2 separate regions of the Homo sapiens genome follow, and region 2 is linked to region 1. The links are contacts of gene promoters, found by promoter capture Hi-C in blood cells and fetal thymus (Javierre and others, 2016). All regions are on one chromosome and are shown on one strand. The core of a region is centred on a gene start or on the middle of the fragment in contact, and the rest is flanking DNA. Distances in the headings are between cores, read along the strand shown.

What was found. Contacts are between HindIII fragments. The CHiCAGO score rates a contact against its expected background, and 5 or more counts as called.
Region 2: a fragment that was not itself captured here is called in contact with the fragment with the promoter of CA2 in region 1 in 17 of 17 cell types (endothelial precursors, megakaryocytes, neutrophils and 14 more); the score reaches 25.5 in endothelial precursors.

Annotation. Positions count from the first base shown.
Region 1 is chr8:85,458,747-85,465,264 of GRCh38, reverse strand. It overlaps CA2 (carbonic anhydrase 2), which reads right to left and starts at 1,258. Exons shown (of 7, transcript NM_000067.3): 1 at 1,150-1,258. The coding sequence starts at 1,183. CA3-AS1 (CA3 antisense RNA 1) reads left to right here and starts at 350. Exons shown (of 3, transcript NR_121630.1): 1 at 350-683; 2 at 2,464-2,529. RefSeq lists enhancers at 650-1,149, 3,050-3,745 and silencers at 793-1,262, 1,373-1,692, 1,763-2,022. The HindIII fragment of the contact is 7,146 bases long and covers 1-3,008 here.
Region 2 is chr8:85,990,847-85,997,867 of GRCh38, reverse strand. No RefSeq gene overlaps it. Among named protein-coding and RNA genes, the nearest start is that of PSKH2, 75 kb to the left of the region's middle. The HindIII fragment of the contact is 4,213 bases long and covers 377-4,589 here.

The DNA of each region.
Region 1 (6,518 bases), core at 9-2,508:
AAAGAAGACATGTGAATCCCCCATTGTGGGGAAAGGTACACCCAGACCCCTAGAGAAGAGCAATCATTCCGGAGCCAATCTGCTCAGTTCCAATTTTAGAAGCATCACTTAACAATGGGCTAAATTTTGGGAAAACACGTAATCTGTGCCTCAGTTTCCACATTTGTAATATGGGATAATTAGAAATCTACCTCATAGATGTCGCTGTAAGAATTAGAATCGATATATGTAAAGCTCTTAGATCACTGAGTGCTATATAAATATTAGCTATTTTAAGGTCGTTTTACTGAAATTCAGCAACTGAAATCGGGCAGACACTAATGTCAGGGCTTGTGGTTGCGATTTTGGGATATGCAAGCTCACTTAAGACATTCAAGGAGGTCTGGATCCTTTCCTCACTGCCCAGGCCCGGGCCCACCCCACCTTTAACCGTCAGGGTTCCCCACTACCTGGGAAGCCCCACACCCTCCAAAGATGCGCTAGGTGCGCCAGACGCATGCTCCTCTGCTCCGCTGGCTCCGAAGAACCAGATCTGAGGCCAAGATAAAACCCGATTCCTGATGTCCGACCCCCTAACATTAGAAGTCGAGAGATGAAGGGAAAACTCGGAAATCAGAGCCATGGATTCAAACCAGCACTGGAAAATGCCCCGGGACAGTTCGTGCTGAGCGCCTTAGCCACAGGTGGTGCTGAAGCTGGAGGGGTGGGGTGGGGGTGGAAGGTGGGGGAGGGGGGAGGGGAGTCTCTTAATTTCTCTGCGATCAACAACTAGAATTTTCCGTTACAACCCTTTCCCGCCTCCTCCTAGGTCCGGTTAAAATGATCCCCAGGTCGGGACCCGGGAGGGACTGTCCTCGGGTCCCGCGGCCAGGGCTGCGCCTCCCCTCCCTCGGGCCCTACGCGCCTCCGGCGGACGCGGGGATTCCTCCACAGTGGCCTCGCAGCTGGGGCAAGGGGGACATCCCCGGCGCCGCGGAGCCGCGAGCGGAGCGAGCGCCCGGGGCGCACCTGAGCCTCCAGCACTCCCCGCGGCCGCGGTAAACAGCATGTGCGGGCGCTGCGGGCCCCGGGCCGGCATCCGGGCTCGGGGATCGGGGATCGGGGATCGGGGATCGGGGCGCCCCCGCGCTGGCCGTCGCCGGCACTCACCGTTGTGTTTGCCGTACCCCCAGTGATGGGACATGGTCGCGCTGGCGGTCGGGGCAGGGCAGGAATCGGCACCGATCTGGCGGCGGCGGCTTGGGCGCCTGCACTGTGTGTCCGCGGGTCGCGCCGGCACCAGCTTTTATAGGCTCCCGCCAACTTCGTGCTCGGGGGCGGCCCGGGGGAGGGGGCTCGGGTGGACCTAGGCGACAAGGGGAGGTGGTGACGGGCGGAGGTGAACTCCCCGCGCTCGGGGCGGGGCGGGCCGGGCGGGCGAGTCTCCGGGGGCGGGGAAAACGCCCTCTCGGCTGGCGCCCGGCGGGGCTCCGGGGCTCCGGGGCTCCGGGGCTCCTCTCCCGCCGCCCGGCTCCCCTCGGCCCACGGCAGGGCCCCGGTGTCCTGGGCTGGCAGCGAAGCTCGGAGCTCTGGGCGTGCGGCGGCTGCGGTGGCTCCTGGGCTCCTCCGTCCAACCCGGGCCGCGGAGCCTCTACGCGCACCCCATCCCCCTCCCGGCTGCGGAGTCTGGCGGCGGCGGGGACTGCTCGGGACCCGGACCCCCGGCGCCTTTCGTCCCCTGTCCCCATTGTGACCTGTCTCTTGGCCCCGGAGCCCTCCCGCCCCACCCGCGCCGGGGTCTCCAGCGCGAAGGGCTCAGTCTCTGGTGTCCCCGGCCTGGGGCTGGCAAGCTGGGTTAGGAGCTATGACCTTGGGGCAAATAGGGATACGATCCTAGAGGCGCAGGGGAGCGCGCAGCATGAGTGCTGAGAGGCACGCGCCCTCTGCTGCACGGCCGTGGAATAAAACGAGACAACGGCCCCACAGTCCCCTGCCCGCAGCCCACGCTCGGGCGAGCCTGGAGGATTGCATTTCCTCGTAGGCTGGCAGAGCCTTACATGAAGCGCTCATCTTCTCCTACTTTCCTCCTCTTTAAAAAATTAACGTGGGTGAGGAGACGTCCTAGTTGAGTACATATTGATTTGAAATAACCAAAACTTTTAACAAATCACTTTTCTCAGAAGAATCCAGTAAGAGAAAGATAATTTCTTCCAAAGACATGAGACGTTCCCTGGCTGGCCAAGAAAAATTGGCATCTGGCATACCTAGGAATCATTCAAAATAGTTTAATAGGAAGGACATTTTGAGGCCAGCCAGCATTATGACATTTGTGGGTCCTACGGCATTTCACCTTGGTGGGTCCCTTTTTCATAAACACGCATTTATACCAACACTGACATAAAGATAAATATCTTAATATTATATATTTAAACATTTTCTTTAACCAACACCTAATTTTTTTCTTTTTTGTTCTTATTTTAAAAGGAAACATTTTCCTGGGCATCTAAAAGTATTGTGGACCTGAGACACTGTGCTTACAGGGCCTACTGGGTAAGTGAGGCTGTTTTGAGATATAGAGAGAATTCATTTCCTACAAGGGATTTTGCCACAGAAAAATCCGGGGGTTTGTGGGAAGGAGTTCGGTTCTGTGGTCTCTGCAATCTCTGAGGGCAATAGTATTAGAGTTACAGTTGGGGAAGCAGGACACAGTTTAATGTGATTGTGTCGGCCTTGACATCACATTACTTACCTTTGAAAATATACAGATAAATACAAGGATAAGTTATTAGTGGACATTTTTGCAATATGTATCTCAAAATCACTCTTTACTATTTATTTCAGTCAATTTCATCCAAACAAATATGATTCATGTTTAGACTTACTTGTTCTAAGATTCTAGAAAATTGTGTACTTCTGCTTATGTGGGTTTTGGGTTGATGTCACAGGGAATTCTTAGGCAAGAAAGCAGCAATAAAGTTTTTAAATTTTTAGGACCATTACAAAATGGAGTTTGTAGCAAAGAAGAAGCTTTTATTTGTGCCTCTGTAGGTGCATTGTATCTGTTGGGGCCCATTGATGTAATTTTGTTTCTTTACATAATTTTCAAATATTAACTTAGTTGCTATGAGACTCTTCACTTGGCCCTGGAGATATGGCGTTGATAGGTGCCAAGAATTGAGTGCAAAGTTTGTGAATGTAGAGTGGCTTCCCGGGATTCTGTGGAGGGAGCCAGGCGATTTGATCAGCAGGAATCCTTGTCTTTCATTTTCCGTGAAACTGGATTGTGGCTTTCCTAACAGGGATGAAGTAAGAGCATGTTTGATTCTTAAATATGCGTAAAACTTCAAACACCACCAAACTGCAGTTCACCAAATGGATTATTGTCATGGGAATTTTTCCTTATCTCTCACTTCTGGAAAGTGAATTAATTCTCAGTGGGAGCAAGCCCTCCCCACAGAGCTGCTGTTAGGGAGAGTGTCACATGTTCACCACAGGGTGGAGAGTGGTTCACCTTTGGTTACTCAGAAGCAATCTAAATTTTTTAGCAGCGTTTTTGGTATTACAGTGGTTGGCTTAGCATTGTTTTATTTTCCTGGTCAATTTTTTTTAATGGAGTTAACTTTATGCATTCATGTTGGTCAGTCCCAACCTAACTTTATTTTACTGAAGGCATTCTTCTTAGCAGGCTGTCATGATTCACTAGCTGCAAAAGACTACTCTAATACTGGATTTGTTCAAATAAAAAAAGTGCTTATCTTATTATGTACCTATCTTTCCATTAGAGGGAAGGATGGGTTCATTTCAGAATAATCTTAAGTAAAGGAACTGACAGTAGCTTAAGAAAAGTACTTTTCTTTGCCCCAGAAAAAAAAAAATTCAGGCAGTATATCAGGAAAATGTAATGTAAAAAAACTTAAAGTCTGTGTTCCAATTATTATAATAAAAAAGCTTCTAACATATTATTCTTAGTAAAAATGTGAAAGTATTTGCTTTTTCTCAAAAAATGTAAAGATATTGTTAAAATATTTTACAAGGTGAGATACACATTATTTATTAAATATTTAATTAAAAAGCTAATAAAAAGCCAGATATTCTCATATTTGTTACCATTATAGTGTTTAAGTAGATATCTGGGGCTGGACTCAGTGGCTCCCGCCTGTAATCCCAGCACTTTGGGAGGCCAAGGCAGGCGGATCGCTTGAGGTCAGGAGCTCAAGACCAGCCTGGGCAACATGGCAAAACCCCATCTTTACAAAAAATAAGAAGTTAGCCAGGCATGGTGGTGTGCCCCTGTAGTCCCAGCTGCTTAGGAGGCTAAGGTCGGCAGATCGGAACCCAGGAGGTTGAGGCTGCAGTGAGCCATGATCATGCGACTGCACTCCAGACTGGGAAACAGGAAGACACTGTCTCAAACAAAATAAAAATAAATAAATATCTATGAAGGCCAAGAGCCATTTGTTTCTTGGGGCTCCCATAGGTCTTTGCATACACATCCTTCTATCCTAATATTGGCAATTCTGCATTGTAATCAGACACTCTATTGTAATCATTGGGTTATAATCCAATGCCCCAATAAGCTGTTGACTGCTCATTTGTAAAGCAGGAATAATGACACTCACCTCATTGTTGTAAGAATTCAGTCAGTGAGCATAGATAAATCACCTGTCACGTGTAGGCACTCAGTAAATGATGGCTATTCAGTCCCTCCTAGACAGTGCTAAACAGTTAGAATATAATTTAAGGAATGCAAAATTAAACACCTGGGCCAGGTTCATGGGAAACATTTAAGAGGAATGAGTCTCCACAGCAGGAGGTGTTTTTTTGTTTGTTTTGTTTTGTTTTTTTTTGTGAGAGGACAGAGGAGTGTTTGGGTCATGGAGATGTCCATTCTACCACGCTTATGTTTTTCTTCCTAAACTGTGCCCCCTGAAGTTGAGTACTGTGTCACATTATTTATCTCTGTATCTTAGGCACCTAGTACCCTTTACCTAGCCTGAGTCCCAAGATACATATAGTAGTTACTCACATAGTACTCCTTGAAATTATAAACTTTGAAAAATCCAAATGGAGATAATGGCAGTTTCACTTTGCAGAAGTTAGTAAATAATTTTGTTACAGATTATAGTTAGCAAATAACATTGTGCTGAAATTAGGTTGGTTTTGAATCTGGGTTAATTTACTAGCTTTGTGACTTTGGGCAAATTTCTTGATTGTGCTAAGATTCAGTTTCCTCATCTATAAAACTAGGATAATAATAATACTTACCTCACAGAGTTGTGGTGAGGACTAAGATGATACAGTGTGTGAAGGATTTAACCTAGTGCCAATAATTAGAGCTTGATCAATGTCAGTTATCATTACTACCGTTACATGTTTCTCAGCTCCTATTTTGTGCTTAATATTTTCTATGTGCTAGGTGAGCTACACAAGATAACTTGTCTCATCATCCATTCACTCAATGAATCATTCTGAATGCTATTATGTGTCAGGCATCAGCACAGAGGCTATAGCCATAAACCAGATCAACATGACTCCTGCCCTCACAGAGTTTACATGGGGATGGATGGGGGTACTGTACAATAAATGACTCAAAATAAACAACAAAAGTAAATTTCCAATACTGAAAATTAGTATGAGGAAAGTAAAACAGGAATGAGGTAAAGAATAATGAGTGAGGAAATCCTACTTTAGATGCGGTGGTTATAGAAAACCTATTGAAGGAAGTACATTTGAGGAACCACTAAAAAAAGATCTGGGGGAGGGCATTTCAGGCAGAGGAAACAGCAAGTATAAAGGCCCTGAGAAAGGAAGTTTCTAGAACAGAAAAGCTTGTGACTGAAGCATGGTGACTGAGGAAGAAAAGACAAGTAGTGGAGTCAGAGACAGTCAGGGGCTACAGCCTGCAGAGCCTTGCAGACAATGATAGCAAGAAAGGATTTTATACTAGTTGCGCAGGGAAGCCACTAGGGAGTGGCTTATGCACAGGTATATTATGTGCTGGGAGGATATAATACAAACCACAACAATATATCATTGTAGAATTAAAAGAAGTTTGGAGGTTACCTGGTCCAACTATTTATTTTATAGATGAGGAGACTTGTAGAAGTCCCCAGATACAACACGCTGTTGCCTAGCTCCTTGCTTTTATTCATCTGACAACTTCCTTTACAGAAAGATCCAAACTTCTTCTTCTGACTATAAAACCATTTAATCCTGTCTCTGGCTTCCCTCTTGGACTCTGAGTCTCTCAATATCCTTCTTTGGTAAGATGTGAGGCAGCATCACAAGTGGCCAAGAGCCCAGGTTTTATAGTTTGGATTCAGCTTCGAGGGCTTCTTCACTACATGATCTTATATACTTATTTCACCTCCTCAAAGCTCAGTTTCCAAAGGTGAAATGTAGTAAGAGTACCCAGGGCTGCTGATCGTGGTAAATGGACTAGTTTGTGTGAATTGGTCCTGTGAATGAACATGATTCCTGGTATGTTGTTAGCTGCTCCATTAGGATTATTGTTATTGTAGTCAAGAACCATAGAATTG
Region 2 (7,021 bases), core at 1,234-3,733, 530 kb before region 1:
GGGACTGACACTGTTAAAGAACTGATGCTTGGAATGGATGTAGACCCTTAGAAATCCAGGCTTGAGCAAATATGTGAACTACAGCAAGTTTGAATTAAGATTCCAGAGGCCTTTTTAAAGACTCTAGTCATATATAAAACACTTGGCATGCGTGTTGGAAGGAAAAAAATCATGAGTGCAAGGCCCATTAGTTTGCTGCCAATGAATCCTCAGAAAGATACAGAGAAAGTTATTCTTAAGTCACCCTTCTAACATCCTATCTTAGATGTTGATTTTTTTTTAACCTTTAGCTAGATGTGGGGCAAATACTTTTATGGAACCAGAATCTTTGGATATGAGATCCATTTTATAACACTAAGCTTCAGCATGCCAAGCTTGGAGAAAGAAAGTTCAGTTATTACCAGAAGTCATCCAGTTTTCCCCTTGGTCATCATAGGTCACAGCTCTCTCCAGCTCAACTCCATGAGTACTTCCTATGTGTATGGTGCCCTGCTAGGTTACTACAGCATCCTGGGAAGCACATGTAGAGGGTGTGCCATAAATGCCAAAAGGAGTTATTGACAAGGCGTTCCATCCTAGTTGGAGGCACCAATATATATGTAATAGAAATTAATAAATAAGCTGGACATGGTAGTTCACACCTGTAATTCCAGCAGTTTGGGAGGCCAACACAGGAGAATTATTTGAGGCTAGGAGTTCAATACCAGCTTGGGCATTATAGTGAGACCCTTTCTCTAAAATACATATATATATATATATTAGCCAGGTGTGTTTTGGGATGTTGAAATGGGAGGATCAGTTAAGCACAGGGGTTCAAGCCTTCAGGGAGCTACGATCATGCCACCACACTCCAGCCTGGGCAAGAGAGTGAGACCCTGTCTCTGTCCATCATTCAGTCAACCAGCCATTGCTGGCATTTGAAGTTAGCTTTAAAGGATACATAGAGTTCTGACAGGTAGAGAAGGTCTGGGAAAAGCTATTAAGGTACATAGGGGGAAATTGTGCATCAATGGAAACTACACATTATCTACAGATTACCCCTCCTGGCTACCTGATTCTATGAGAGCTATTTTACAGTTCTGTAAGTTGTGGGTAACTGATAGCAATGTGTGCTAGCTTCCACAGGCTGCTGTAACTTTGTGGCATAAAACAATAGAAATTGATTCTGTCATAGTTCTGGAGCCAGAAGTTTGAAATCAAGGTGTCATCAGAGCTCCACTTCCTCTGAAGACTCTAAGGGAGCTTCCATTTCTTGCCTCTTCCAGCTTCTGGTGGCTCCAGGCATTCCTTGGCTTGTGGCTGCACCTCTCCAACACCTGCTTCTGTGATCACATTGCCTTCCCCACGTCTGCTGCCAAATCTCCACTGTGGGTGTCTTATAAAAATATTTGTCATTGGATTCAGACCTCAGCTTGGTAATAGAGGATGATCTCTTCAAATTAAAATCCTTAACCTAATTACAGCTTCAAAAAGCATTTTTCCAAATGAGTTAACATTCACAGGGTCTAGGAATTAAGATGTGGACATCTGTTATTGGGCTTCTATTATTCAACCCGCTAAAATGCAAATAAATTTTGTCCATAGATATGCAAATTCAATTTTTCTGGTAAAGATTCAGTTGACTTCCCTACCTCTCAACCCTTTTGGAAAAATCAGGTTTGCCTCTATTTTCACATTCATTTAAATACTCCTGATTTATAAATGAGTCTGTTCTTTAGATTCTCTTTTCAAATGGCAATGACACCTACCTGGTATCCTCATTGATTGAGTTAAATGAATAAAATCTGTAATGTGTTCATTTTATATAAACATAAAAGTTATGAATTTGGGGGATAATTATCTTTTAAAAATAGCTTTAAGAGAAAAGTGCTGATTGAAAAGAATGTTATAATCATTTATTTACTTGTTCTCTCTTTCTCTCTCTCCTCCATTAAAATGTAAGTTTCGGCCGGGCACAGTGGCTTACGCCTATAATCCCAGCACTTTGGGAGGCCAAGGCAGGTGGATCACGAGGTCAAGAGATCGAGACTATCCTAGCCAACATGATGAAACCCCGTCTCTACTAAAAATACAAAATTAGCTGGGCGTGATAGTGCATGCCTGTAATCCCAGCTACTCGGGAGGCTGAAGCAGGAGAATTGCTTGAGCCCAGGAGGCGGAGGTTGTGGTGAGCTGAGATCACCATTGCACTCCAGCCTGGGCAACAAGAGTGAAACTCTGTCTTAAAAAAAAAAAAATCAAGGTTCACAGTAGCAGGCATTTTTTTCCTGTTTTGTTCACTGATGTATTTCTAGTACTGAAAAAGTGCCTGACACATATTAAAGACATCATAACAACTATTTTTTTAGTGAGTGAATGTTGGATTTTAAAAAAATGAGCAATCTGGGGTGTTTTATATTTAAAAGCACTTGGTGGGAGTGAATGTGCTGAAGGAGCAGGGTGCAAATTGCTGGTGTACTTGAACGCCATGCCCAAGCATTTAGCCTTTGTCTAGGGGTGATGAGGAGTCATTGAAAGTGCAAGCCAATCTTTTACTGAGTTCTGCATTCATCTTGGTCTGTTTTTCTGAAACCAGACTATTAAGGCTCTAGCCAGTAATATAATGATTTCTGCTCCGTGTATAACATTTTTCTTTTTGAAGGGCAGAGAATTCGGATTTTACTAAAATGGAGATTTAGTAATGATAAAAGATAATAATCACAGTGGTTTATAAAATGACATGAAGACATCAAGCTCAACTTCTGGCTATTGGTGTTTGAAAAAGAGATGAAGAATTTTACAGTGAGCAGACACCAATATACATTTATCTTAGCATATCTGTATACATCAGAAATTCTTTTTGATGTAATAATATTGTTGAAAAGATCATTAATATTTATTTCAGAATAAAATATGGTATTTAATGATTTTCAATTCCAGATCCTAGAAATCCATAAATATGAAAGAATCTAGTACAGCCGGGCGCGGTGGCTCATGCCTGTAATCCCAGCACTTTGGGAGGCTGAGGCAGGTGGATCACAAGGTCAGGAGATCGAGACCATCCTGGCTAACACAGTGAACCCCATCTCTACTAAAAATACAAAAAATTAGTCGGGCATGGTGGCGGGCACCTGTAGTCCCACCTACTCAGGAGGCTAAGGCAGGAGAATGGCATGAACCCGGGAGGTGCAACTTGCAGTGAGCTGAGATTGCGCCACTGCACTCCAGCCTGGGCGACAGAGTGAGACTCTGTCTAAAAAAAAAAAAAAAAAAAAAAAAAAAAAATCTAGTGCAAAACCAATAGATGAAACTCAGAAACATGGTGGGAATTCATGCCTAGTTTCTAATTTTCTGGGTCTTTTTTTTTTATCTCTATTTAGTTTCTAAATACATATCAAAATATTTTTCTGTGTTACCTAATGTGTCATCATGTCATCCAACATAAAAGAGTATATGCTGAACTCATCGAAGGCTTGTTTTTATAAGTTGATATTTTTGGTAAACAATCTGTACTTTAAATTGATGAATCTTGAATTATTTACTGCAAGGAACTCTGTCAGATTGAATGTAAAATAGCATAGAATTTATGGTAAAGTCTGAATTTGCTCAGGTCCAGGAGAGTCACAGGGCATCTCTTGTTCAGGGACAGTCCCTATTCTCTCTTTGTATTCTGAATCAATGGCTCTGTTGTAGTCAAGGCTACGGTGACGCATTGTGAGGCCAGGGAGAAATACAATCCCAGCTCTGAAGTTGTTGGAAAGAATACAGATTTGTGGAACACAAATTAGTCTCTAGTATGTTTTAGTGATACTTCGGATCATTAATGACCTGAATTTTCTAGAAGTTTAAGTTTCTCTTATTATTAACCCAAACCAAAATTACCCTATTGTTTCCAACCAAGCTGTTTTCTCTCTTATGAAGTCATTTACCCATGTAAGAACAAATTTTCTAAGTATTCACAGAGAGTTTAAACAGTTTTCAGGGGCAGAGTGCAAGGGAAAATCACAGTTTAGAGAATATAAAAACTACGGATATATTTATACTATTATAAATCTCACCATGAAATTATATTTTAATGGGCTGCCAAATGAATCGAGACTAGGAAGAATAATAGCTTGAGGACCTTTAAGTGTTTTTTTTCTATTGACTAAACAGAAGAACTGTAAGGAATATTCCTATAGGAATATGTCTTAGAACTAGAAAATTCTCTTTCTAATTGGTTGAGAAATAACACCATAAATTGATCTTAGTTAATGTTGCTTGTCTCCACATACCAACTGCAAACTTAAAAGAAGTTTTATTTATGTTTTAAAATACTACTACTTCTGTCAGAAAAAAACTTAAGAAAAGTATTCCAGACTAGTTCATTCCACATTTTTATGATTAAATAAACACATGCTCACATACACAATATCACCTGCAGGAAATGAATTGACCATGGTCATGGTCATCCTATCTGAGTTTAAAGGGTGAAAGAGGCTCTAATGGGAAGAGGATTGAAGAGCATAAATCTGAGGCAAGAGGAAGGACAAATGAGCACTGTTTACAAGGCATGGAAACAAATCACCTAATTAACTAGCACATTTGCAGTTTCTACCCACGGGTAAGCTTCTTTGGCTACTAACACTTGAGCAGGCTGAAGAGCTTCTGGAGACATAGATGTTAATAAGAACTCAAAAGGCTGGGGTCGGTGGCTCACGCCGGTAATCCCAACACTTTGAGAGGCCAAGGAGGGCAGATTACCTGAGGTCAGGAGTTCAAGACCAGCTTGGCTAACATGGCGAAACCCCTCGTGCTCGCCTGTAATCCCAGCTACTTGGGAAGCTGAGGCAGGAGAATCTCTTGAACCCAGCAGGCGGAGGTTGCAGTAAGCCGAGATCGTGCCACTGCACCTCAGCCTGGATGACAGAGTAAGACTCCGTCTTGGAAGGATGGAAGGAAGGAAGGAAGGAAGGAAACTCAAAAGATGGTGGATCTGACATACAAACATGATTGATTAGTCTCTATTCTTTATTGTCCTTACTGATAGGGTGGGTGTATGACTTTTTGGTTAATATCAAGTGTTTATTGGTGAAATAAGTACATATCCTTTTAGTTAAAACCTTTTTAGCTGAGAAGAGTGTTAATAAGAGAAGGGTAGAAAAGGCTTGGTGAGGGTTAGGAATAATGTTGAAGGTGTTCTGAACACTAGATAAGGCTGTAGTTTCACTTATTTTGTTATTTCTATATGCCATAATATCCATATTATTCATTGTTAAGAAGGTAATCAAGAATTATTTTAATAATTCTTGTATTATTTAATGAAATATATTATTTAATACATATGTATTAATATATTAATCTGTATTATTTAATACAGATTATTATATGTATTAAAATATATGTATATATTTTATATACATACATATTTAAATATGTATGCATATATAAATAATACATATAATATAATCATGTATTATTTAATAATAATACATATAATATAATCATGTATTATTTAATAATAATACATATAATATAATCATGTATTATTTAATAATAATACATATAATATAATCATGTATTATTTAATAATAATACATAAATGATTTCTCCAGATATCATGGGAAAAACAGGAGTTTAATTCCTGTCATTTTAATTCTTATTTTTTCCAAAATTCAATCCTTTATAGATACCAATTTATTATGACTTGGTACACTTAAAAAAATCCACATACAGTAAACTTCACTTTTTTGGGAGTATAGTTCTATGAGTTCTGGCAAATGCATAGAGTCCTATGACTAGGAAGATATAAAACAGCTCCGTCACTTCCCAAATTCTATCCTGCTGCCTGTTTATGGCCATCCCCTTTCTCCACACTTAACCCCTGGCAACCAGGGGCTTAAGTGCTTTATTCCTATAGCCTTTTTCCAGGATGTCATTTAAATGCAGTCACTCACACACTATTCATTTTTTGACAGTATCTTCAAAATTTTCAAAGAGAACTATATGCCTTTTTAAAAAGAAAAGTATAAATCAAGGATGTGATACCTGCAAGTATAGTAGACTTGTTATATTGACATTTATTTCATTAAAATACACAACATGAGTATTAGTTATGGTTCTGAAACCATACATTTCTTCTTGGACTCTGAAAGGCCAGGCAAGCCCATGTACATCAAATAAAAATAAAGGAATTCTTGACTGTAAAGAAGTATTGAGCTGAGGCTACCTCCAAAATAAGGAGGGACAGTTATTCTGGGAAGGGCAAGATCCATTTTCTCATTGGCTTCCGGTTAAGCTAGTCATAGAGAGAAGACCTGATGAATGAATGGCCTTTGAAACTCTCAAATTTGCATGGGAGGGCACATTCATAGATGTAATTGGTCACTCCACTCAGCTCTTGGATTGAATCCACTGCAATGGTTTCCTTGATGCGTTTTCAGGATGCACAGATCACTACCATGTGGTCTCAGTGGAGAGGCCCCTTAACTAGTCAATGGCATGTGGGAAACTGCACTCCCTTCTGAAAACCTTGAAGCAACTTTGGTTAAAAGCCTCACAATTTTTCCTTAATAGCAGGCTTTTTCCTTCCACATAATGGCTCTTTCCTTTTCTCTGCCAAACTCACTGCATTGTTCAGGAATCAAAAATAATCCCATGAAAGGAAAATGATGGTATTAAAGTGGTCCACAGGGCCTCATGCAGGTTCAGCCCACAATGCTGCCTTCACTCAAAAAAGCACAGCAATACATTTATTTGGTAAATGGTTTTGGATTATAACAACAATATTGATCCCTTTTTTTTTCTTAATTTCAGGATTTGTCTTTCTAAAGGGCTGCAAACTAATCTTTTAGTTTAGCCACAGCCAAGTAGCCTGTCTAGGTCAAAAGATGTATTTTGATGATTAATCCTTATTGTTACATTGTAGATAGCTGTAGGACTTGTAAACATTTTACTAAATTTCATTTAAAAAGTCTCTGAACCCATTAATTTTGGGAAATTCCAAATACATATAAATTATTTAAATATATGTATTAATAGTAAGATAGAATCTCGAAATATT